Regions from separate parts of the Homo sapiens genome. Here region 2 is linked to region 1. Evidence: promoter capture Hi-C in human tissues and cell types (Jung and others, 2019). All regions are on one chromosome and are shown on one strand. The core of a region is centred on a gene start or on the middle of the fragment in contact, and the rest is flanking DNA. Distances in the headings are between cores, read along the strand shown.

What was found. Contacts are between HindIII fragments. The study calls those that stand out against the background at their distance.
Region 2: a contact is called between a fragment that was not itself captured here and the fragment with the promoter of SMCO1 in region 1, in 3 of the 25 tissues and cell types used here (H1 embryonic stem cells, IMR-90 fibroblasts and mesenchymal stem cells).

Annotation. Positions count from the first base shown.
Region 1 is chr3:196,514,096-196,516,795 of GRCh38, forward strand. SMCO1 (single-pass membrane protein with coiled-coil domains 1) reads right to left here and starts at 1,251. Exons shown (of 3, transcript NM_001077657.3): 1 at 1,065-1,251. The coding sequence starts at 1,114. The HindIII fragment of the contact is 4,365 bases long and covers 1-2,700 here.
Region 2 is chr3:196,785,425-196,790,383 of GRCh38, forward strand. The region is part of intron 2 of PAK2 (p21 (RAC1) activated kinase 2); the gene reads left to right. Among named protein-coding and RNA genes, the nearest start is that of PAK2, 48 kb to the left of the region's middle. RefSeq lists an enhancer at 1,476-2,182. The HindIII fragment of the contact is 5,914 bases long and covers 1-4,570 here.

The DNA.
Region 1 (2,700 bases), core at 1-2,500:
TCCAGACACATTCTTCTAAAACACAATTCCGATTCTGTGACTCAACTGATTACAAATGGTTTATGTCATCCTGGCTTGCCCAGTGATATACTCAGAGGCAAACTGGATCTCCTCAGCAGGAAAGTCAAGGGCCTTCACCCTTTGCTCCTGTCTTCCACCAGTCCCCTCACCCATCCTAGTTACCAATTACACGAGACATCTAGTTGCTGCTTGAATACATTATGTGGTTCCAAGCTTACATATGGCTTATATGCACTGTTTCCTCAGCCTAGAATGCCTTCCCATATTTTTCTCCCTCATAAGCTCCTACTTGCACTTTAAGATCCAGCTTAAATGACCCTATATGAAGAGTTCCTTTTTCTAGTGTCAAAGGCAAAATTGGTTGATCCTCCCTTCATGTTCGCATAGACCTTTAGGAACATCACCATTGTAAGGTCAGTCACATTAAATTGTAAATGTTTTTCAAACTTTTCTCTTTCCTACAGGCTGTGAGCTCCTTGAGGGCAGAAACCACATTTTACTTATTTTTGTAAATCTAGGATTTAGCATATGCATACATTCAATGGAGTTACAGCACCTGGGAGCAGACTTTTCTTTATTGTTAATTTACATAGGTTTGGGCCTGGAAGACTTAAACCACTGTAATAGAGACGGAATTCTTTTTTTGGACGGAGTCTTGCTCTGTTGCCAGGCTGGAGTGCAGTGGCACGATCTCGGCTCACTGCAACCTCCACCTCCCGGGTTCAAGTGATTCTCCTGCCTCAGCCTCCCAAGTAGCTGGGACTACAGGCGCCCGCCACCATGCCTGGGTAATTTTTGTATTTTTAGTAGAGGCAGGGTTTCACCATGTTCGCCAGGCTGGTCTCAATCTCTTGACCCTGTGATCCGCCCACCTCGGCCTCCCAGTGTGCTGGGATTACAGGTGTGAGCCACCGCACCGGCCACAGAGACAGAATTCTAATGAGCATGTCTGCAGTTCTTTATTTCTATTCTTCATTCTTCTCTTACCCATCTTCCCAGAATAGCAGACCCATGCTTGCTCCCTCCCTATAGCCCTCAGCAACCTTTTCATTGCCTCCTTCAAGGATATCAGGGTTGTGGTTTCATTGTTCATCTTCTGAAGGCAAAAGGAAAGAAAACAAAAACAAAGCAAAACAAAAAAAGCAATAAATGTTTGAATCCAGAATTTTCTGCGGTCTTCCTCTCAGCAACAGGCAGCAGTAGCAGGAGCGCTCAGTCTACATTCTGCCTGAAAGGTCACTCAGTACAAGAAGCTTTTAATAGCCTGCAGATCCAAATATAGTTTCAAAGAACTTATCTCGTGGACACAGGTGTCCTGGAATGCACTATAACATTTGCCTTTGAAAACTGAACCATAGTACATTAACATACAGCAACAACCATGTATAATTAATGACTGTGTACATTATGGTAAATGTATATACAGATACATTAACGTAACGTATAGGATTAAGTTTGATGGAAATATTACTGTCATATTTTAACTGCTTCATTATTCAATTACAACCTAAATTAGGTTTGAAGAGTGCCCCAGATCTTTTATGATGATGATATCAAAGCAAAAAATCTAACTATCATTAGAAACTACTAAATACTTGTTATGGCTGGGTATGGTGGCTCACTCCTGTAATCCCAGCACTTGGGGAAGCCAAGGTGGGAGGATTGCTTGAGCCCAGGAATTCAAGACCAGCCTGGGCCACAGAGCGAGACTGTCTCCACAAAAAATACAAAAATTAGCCAGGAGTGGTGGTGCATGCCTGTAGTCCCAGCTACTCAAGAGGCTGAAGTGGGAGGACTGCTTGAGCCCAGGAGTTCGAAGCTGCAGTGAGCTATGATCATGCCACTGCACTCCAGCCCGGGCAAGAGGATAGGATATATATATATATATATATATATATATATATATATATATATAATTATATATAAAATTATACATATAATTATATATAATATATAATTTATATCGTATATAAAATATATATATAATTTTATATAATTATATATATATTAGATTAGGAATTGAATATAAATGTGGAAATAAAATAGGACTGCTGTTTTCATGAGATTTAAAATCTAGTTGGGAAGAAAGAATATATCCTTAAATAGAAAATGTATATGGGATGTGTGCTAAGTAGATAGAGACCATAAAAATAATAGAAGGTGAGAGACTAAGTCACTGAAATCTTGGGTCCTTGGGGAGATATTCACCCTGAAGGTGGTACTTGGCTTGGCCTTAAAGGTCAAGGTCTTTGATTATCAGAGAAGAGTGTTAAGGGTGTTACGAACTGGAGAAATTGTGTGAGCAAAATCACAGAGGTGGCAAAGTAAATGATGTGTTCAGGAAACAATGAGTAGGTATGTTTTGAGCAAAAGATTCATATAAGAAAAAGAAAATAACCACACCATTTAAACTGGTAAGAGCCATGTCACGTATTTGTTCTTTCACTGAATACTTTATTCACTTATTCAATATTTACTGAGCATCATAGATATTAATTGAATGTATAAAACCTACGAATGGATGAGCAGCACTATTCCAGGCACTGGTAATATAGTGATAAGTAAGGCGAAATCCTTGTCCTCAAGGAACATACTAGCAGGGAGACAGCACATAAGGCTTATAAGAGAGGGGATGCTTCTAGCTAGCTTGGTAAGGAGTTTGGACAGATGTGAGCTGTT
Region 2 (4,959 bases), core at 364-2,863, 270 kb after region 1:
TTTTAGTGTACATTCTCACCCACAGAAGATGAGCGTTCCCATTGCTGAGCACCCTCAGCAACTCTGGGAGGGGTGAAATACTAGCTCATTGTGTTTTAAATTGGCCTTTCCCTGATTACTCAAAAAACTGAGCATCTTTTCGGGTTAATTGACCATTCTTGTGTGCTTTCTGTGAAATATCTGTTCAAGAGAAAGAAATATCTGTTCACTATCTATATTAGTCTGTTTTCACACTGCTGATAAAGACATACCTGAGACTGGGTAATTTATACAAGAAAAAGGGTTTATTGGACTTACAGTTTCACATGGCTGGGGAGGCCTCACAATTATGGCGGAAGGCAAGGAGGAGCAAGTCGCGTCCTACGTGGATGACAGCAGGCAACGAGAGAGAGCTTGTGCAGGGAAACTCCCCCTTTTAAAACCAGGAGATCTTGTGAAGACCTGCCCATGATTCAGTTACCTCCTACTGGGTCTCTCCCACAACACATGAGAATTCAAGATGAGATTTGGGTGGGGACACAGCCAAACCATATCAAGGTCTTTAATCCATTTTTCTACTTGGTGGTTAGCTTTTTCGTTTTCTATTAATAAACATTCCTTGTAGTCTATACACTAATCCTTTGCCAGTTATATGATGTTAAAGATAGTATTCCAGGATGTGATTTGCCTTCTCACCCTTTCAGTAGTATATTTTAATGAATAGAAGTTATTAATTTGATATGGTGGATTTGATCAATTTCTCTTTTTTTTTTTTTTGAGATGGAGTCTCATTCTGTCACCCAGGCTGGAGTCTAGTGGCTCAATCTCAGCTCTCTGCAACCTCCGCCCCCCGGGTTCAATCAATTCTCCTGCCTCAGCCTCCCGAGTAGCTGGGATTACAGGCGCCTGCCACCGCGCCCGGCTAATTTTTGTATTTTTAGTAGAGACAGGGTTTCATCATGTTGGCCAGGCTGGTCTTGAACTTCTGACCTTGTGATCCACCTGCCTCAGCCTCCCAAAGTGCTGAGATTACAGGCGTGAGCCACCGTGCCTGTCTTCAATTTCTCTTTTTTGTGGTTCGAGCTTTTTGTTTTTTAAGAAATTTTTGTCTTACTTGAGGTCATAAAGACATTTTCCTGTATTTTTTCTATAGCTTGCCTTTTACACTTTAAATCTTTGAGCTAGCTGGATTTTATTTTTGTATATTTGTGAAAAGATTCACTTTCACTTTTTTCTTTAAACTTGGATAGTATCCCAGACCCATTTATTGAGTCTTCTATTTCCCCACTGACCTAGACCACCATTATTTGTCAGGTTTCCATGTGAGAGTCTGTTTCTGTGTTCTCTGCTTTATTCCATTAGGTTATTTGTCTGTACCTGAGCTAATAGTAGCACCCTGTCTTGATTACTATATCTTACAATCTTTTTTTTTTTTTCTTTGAGGCAGGGTCTCACTCTGTGACCCAGGCTGGAGTGCAGTGATATGTCTTGGATCATTGCAACCTCCACCTCCCAGATTCAAGTGATCCTCCTGCCTCAGCCTTCCAAGTAGTTGGGACTACAGGTGCACAACACCATGCCCAACTAATTTTTGTATTTTTTGTAGAGACAGGCTCTCATATGTTGCCCAGGCTGGTCTCAAACTCCTGAGCTCAAACGATCTGCCAGCCTTGGCCTCCCAAAGTGCTGGGATTACAGGCGCGAGCCACCACACCTGGCTCTTATATTGATTGTTAATGCCTGATGGAACAAATCTCTTAACCAGATTCTTCTTCAGAATCCTGTTAATTGCTTTGGCTTTTTGCATCTTTCTATAAATTTTAGAATCTGTTTATCATGTACTTTAACAGAAAAAAAAACCTGTGGCTACTTTGATTAGAATTGTATAGACTTTGGGCCGGGCACCGTGGCTTATGCCTGTAATCTCAGCACTTTGGGAGGCCGAGGCCGGCAGATCACGAGGTCAGGAGAGCGAGACCATCCTGGCTAACAAGGTGAAACGCCATCTCTACTAAAAATACAAAAATTAGCCAGGCATGGTGGCAGGTGCCTGTAGTCCCAGCTACTCTGGAGGCTGAGGCAGGAGAATGGTGTGGACCCGGGAGGCAGAGCTTGCAGTGAGCCTTGATTGCGCCACTGCACTCCAGCCTGGGCGACAGAGCGAGACTCCGTCTCAGAAAAAAAAAAAAAAAAAGAATTGTATAGACTTTGTAGGGCAAATAGGGGAGAATTGCATCCACCTTTGTAGCTGAGGGTGGGGAATCTGCAGAGCCTTTGTGTAGCCTGTTTACAGGGAAGTTTAGTTGCATGTCGTTTTCAGTCTCAGAGAGACAGAGATGTGTGGAATGTTTGGAGGGTAGGATGCTTCTTGATTCCTCCTGTTTCCTGGAGCTCTACCTCCCTTTCCTCTTACACTTATTGCTCCTACCTGGAAGCTGAAACACAGCCCAGTCACTGGGGCCCAGCTTTCGGCATTAGGAATGAGGGAGAACCTTGTGTGTGTTTACACATCCGTGCTTTTGTAAACATAGAAATAACCTGCTCTGTTGCTCTCACTGGATTATCCCGTTCATCACCCTAGTGGTTGCCTCTGGGTCCGCTCATTTCCACCCACCTTGCTTCTAGTTTCAGCCACCTGCAGCAGTTTGCAGAAGCATTTTCCCACTGACATCCTAACTGCTGCTTCTCTCGCTAGTCTTATGCTAATTGCTTTTCATTCTGGAGCATTCCTCGTGGATTTTATTCTGTGAAACACTCGGTTTTGGTGTAGAAGGGAGAGAACTTCAGTATGTGCTCAGTACATCATCTTGAAACAGAAGAGTCTAAAAGGCAAACAATTGTATTTCCATTTTTTAAAAATCATAATGACCTTAAGACTTTTGCCATCTCTAATGTAAGGCCTGATCTAGAGATAATTCATTTTATTCCACTAAAAAATTTACATCCCTTACTGCTTTCCTTACTAAAAAAACAGCTAATATTTTTATAAAAAGAAAATAAAGACTCTAGGATGTTTTCACTTATTAATTACTGGTTTTAATTGGTATCACCAAAAAACTCGAAAATTATCCTTTTGGATCGTGCCGTTTTAAGGCAACTTGACAGAACAGATCTTTTTTCCATGCTTGCTAATGTGTGTACTATGTGAATAATCAGAGATGAGTGATAAAGCAGATAGTGTCCCTGCTCCCACGACAGCAATCTCAAACCATGGTATAGAATTACAAGCCATGAAAAGTGGTACAGAGGCAGTGCACAACATGTGTCCAATCTGCAGTGTCTGGGAAGGCTTCCTAAGGAGGTCATAATAGAGCTGAAGACTGCAGGATGGGTAAGGGAAACGATAGTTACAAAGTGTGTTCCATGCCCGGGAAGAGCCTGTTTCAGTGGCCCACCTACAGGAGGGATCAGAGCACATCCATGGAGCTGAGTGCCGCCCGGTGTTACTGGAAAGCAGAGAGGGAAGGACAGAGAATTACAGCAGGGTGTATGTAGGCACTACAGACAGCAGAAGAGGCTGAAGAGGTAGGCAGTGACCAGGTCATAAAGGGCCTTGTATTCTATGCTACAGAGCTCACATTTTATCCTGTTTCCTGGGGAACCATTACAGATTTTTAATCAGGGGAAAGACCTGGCCATCTCTCTGTTTTAGTTAGGAGAGAATGGTAGGTATATAGAAAAAAGGTTTTGTTCGAAGTGTGAGAGTGAAGTTGGAAACTAGTTAGGAGGCTTTTGCTGTAGCCCAAGTGAGAAATGGCCTAACTAGTCTACTAGTTTAAATAATGAAAATGTCAGTGAGCCATTTGACTTTTTAAAATAAGCTTTATTCATACAGCTAGAGTTGGATGGTATTGTCTTTATTAACTAAAGCAATTTTCACATCTAGCTATTCAACCTATAAGCACCTTCACTTCTGGTTGGTTATGACTTAGATCTGTAAACAACCTTTCTGATTAAAAAAATGAATTCTGAGATTAATAATAGTAACCCATACTTCTCTGCCTATTTCCTAGAGGAGTGGTCCCCAACCTTTTTGACACTGGGGTAATGGTTTCATGGAAAACAATTTTTCTTTTTTCTTTTTTGTTTCATCTTGTTGCCCAGGCTGGAATGCAATGGCGTGGTCTCAGCTCACTGCAACCTCCGCCTCCTGGGTACAAGCAATTCCCCTGCCTCAGCCTCCCGAGTAGCTGGGACTAGAGGTGCACGCCACCACGCCCAGCTAATTTTTTTGTATTTTTAGTAGAGACAGGGTTTCACCATGTTGACCAGGCTGGTCTCGAACTCCTGACCTCAGGTGATCTGCTCACCTCAGCCTCCCAAAGTGCCGGGATTACAGGCGTGAGCCACCGTGCCTGGCCGGAAAACAATTTTTCTGTGGGGCTGACGGGGGGGTGGTTTCGGTATGAAACTCTTCCACCTCAGATCATCAGACATTAGTTAGATTCTCATAAGGAGTGTGCAGCCTAGATCCCTCTCATGCGCAGTTCACAATAGGGTTTGCGCTCCTATGGGGATCTAATGCTGCCACTGATCTGACAGGAGGTGGCGCTCAGGCGGTGGTGCTCACTCCCCACTGCTCACCTCCTGCTGTGCCACCCAGTTCCTAACCGGCCATGGACCTGTACTGGTCCACGGCCCTGGGGCTGGGGACACCTTTCCTAGAGAATTCTCTGCTGTGTCATGGAATTTGAAGCTATTACACATCAAAAGAACAAAGGAGGAATTACTTATGGTTAGACTAGAAACAGAAGAGTCTTCCTTTTAAACAGATAAAGGGTTTCTTTTATTTGTTTGTTTAGCCTTAGATGTAGCTTGAAAGCAGTCTAAAAGGTAGTGCCCTAGAGAATGTGACAGTAGCCTACTTAGGATTCTTTTCAGTACCTTTTGTCAACATGTGACTCAGGGTCTCTGCCTCTTGGCTGAAGGTTGCTGCCTGCCTGCTGCTGCTGTTTTGTTGTCTAATGAAGTTGGAAAATG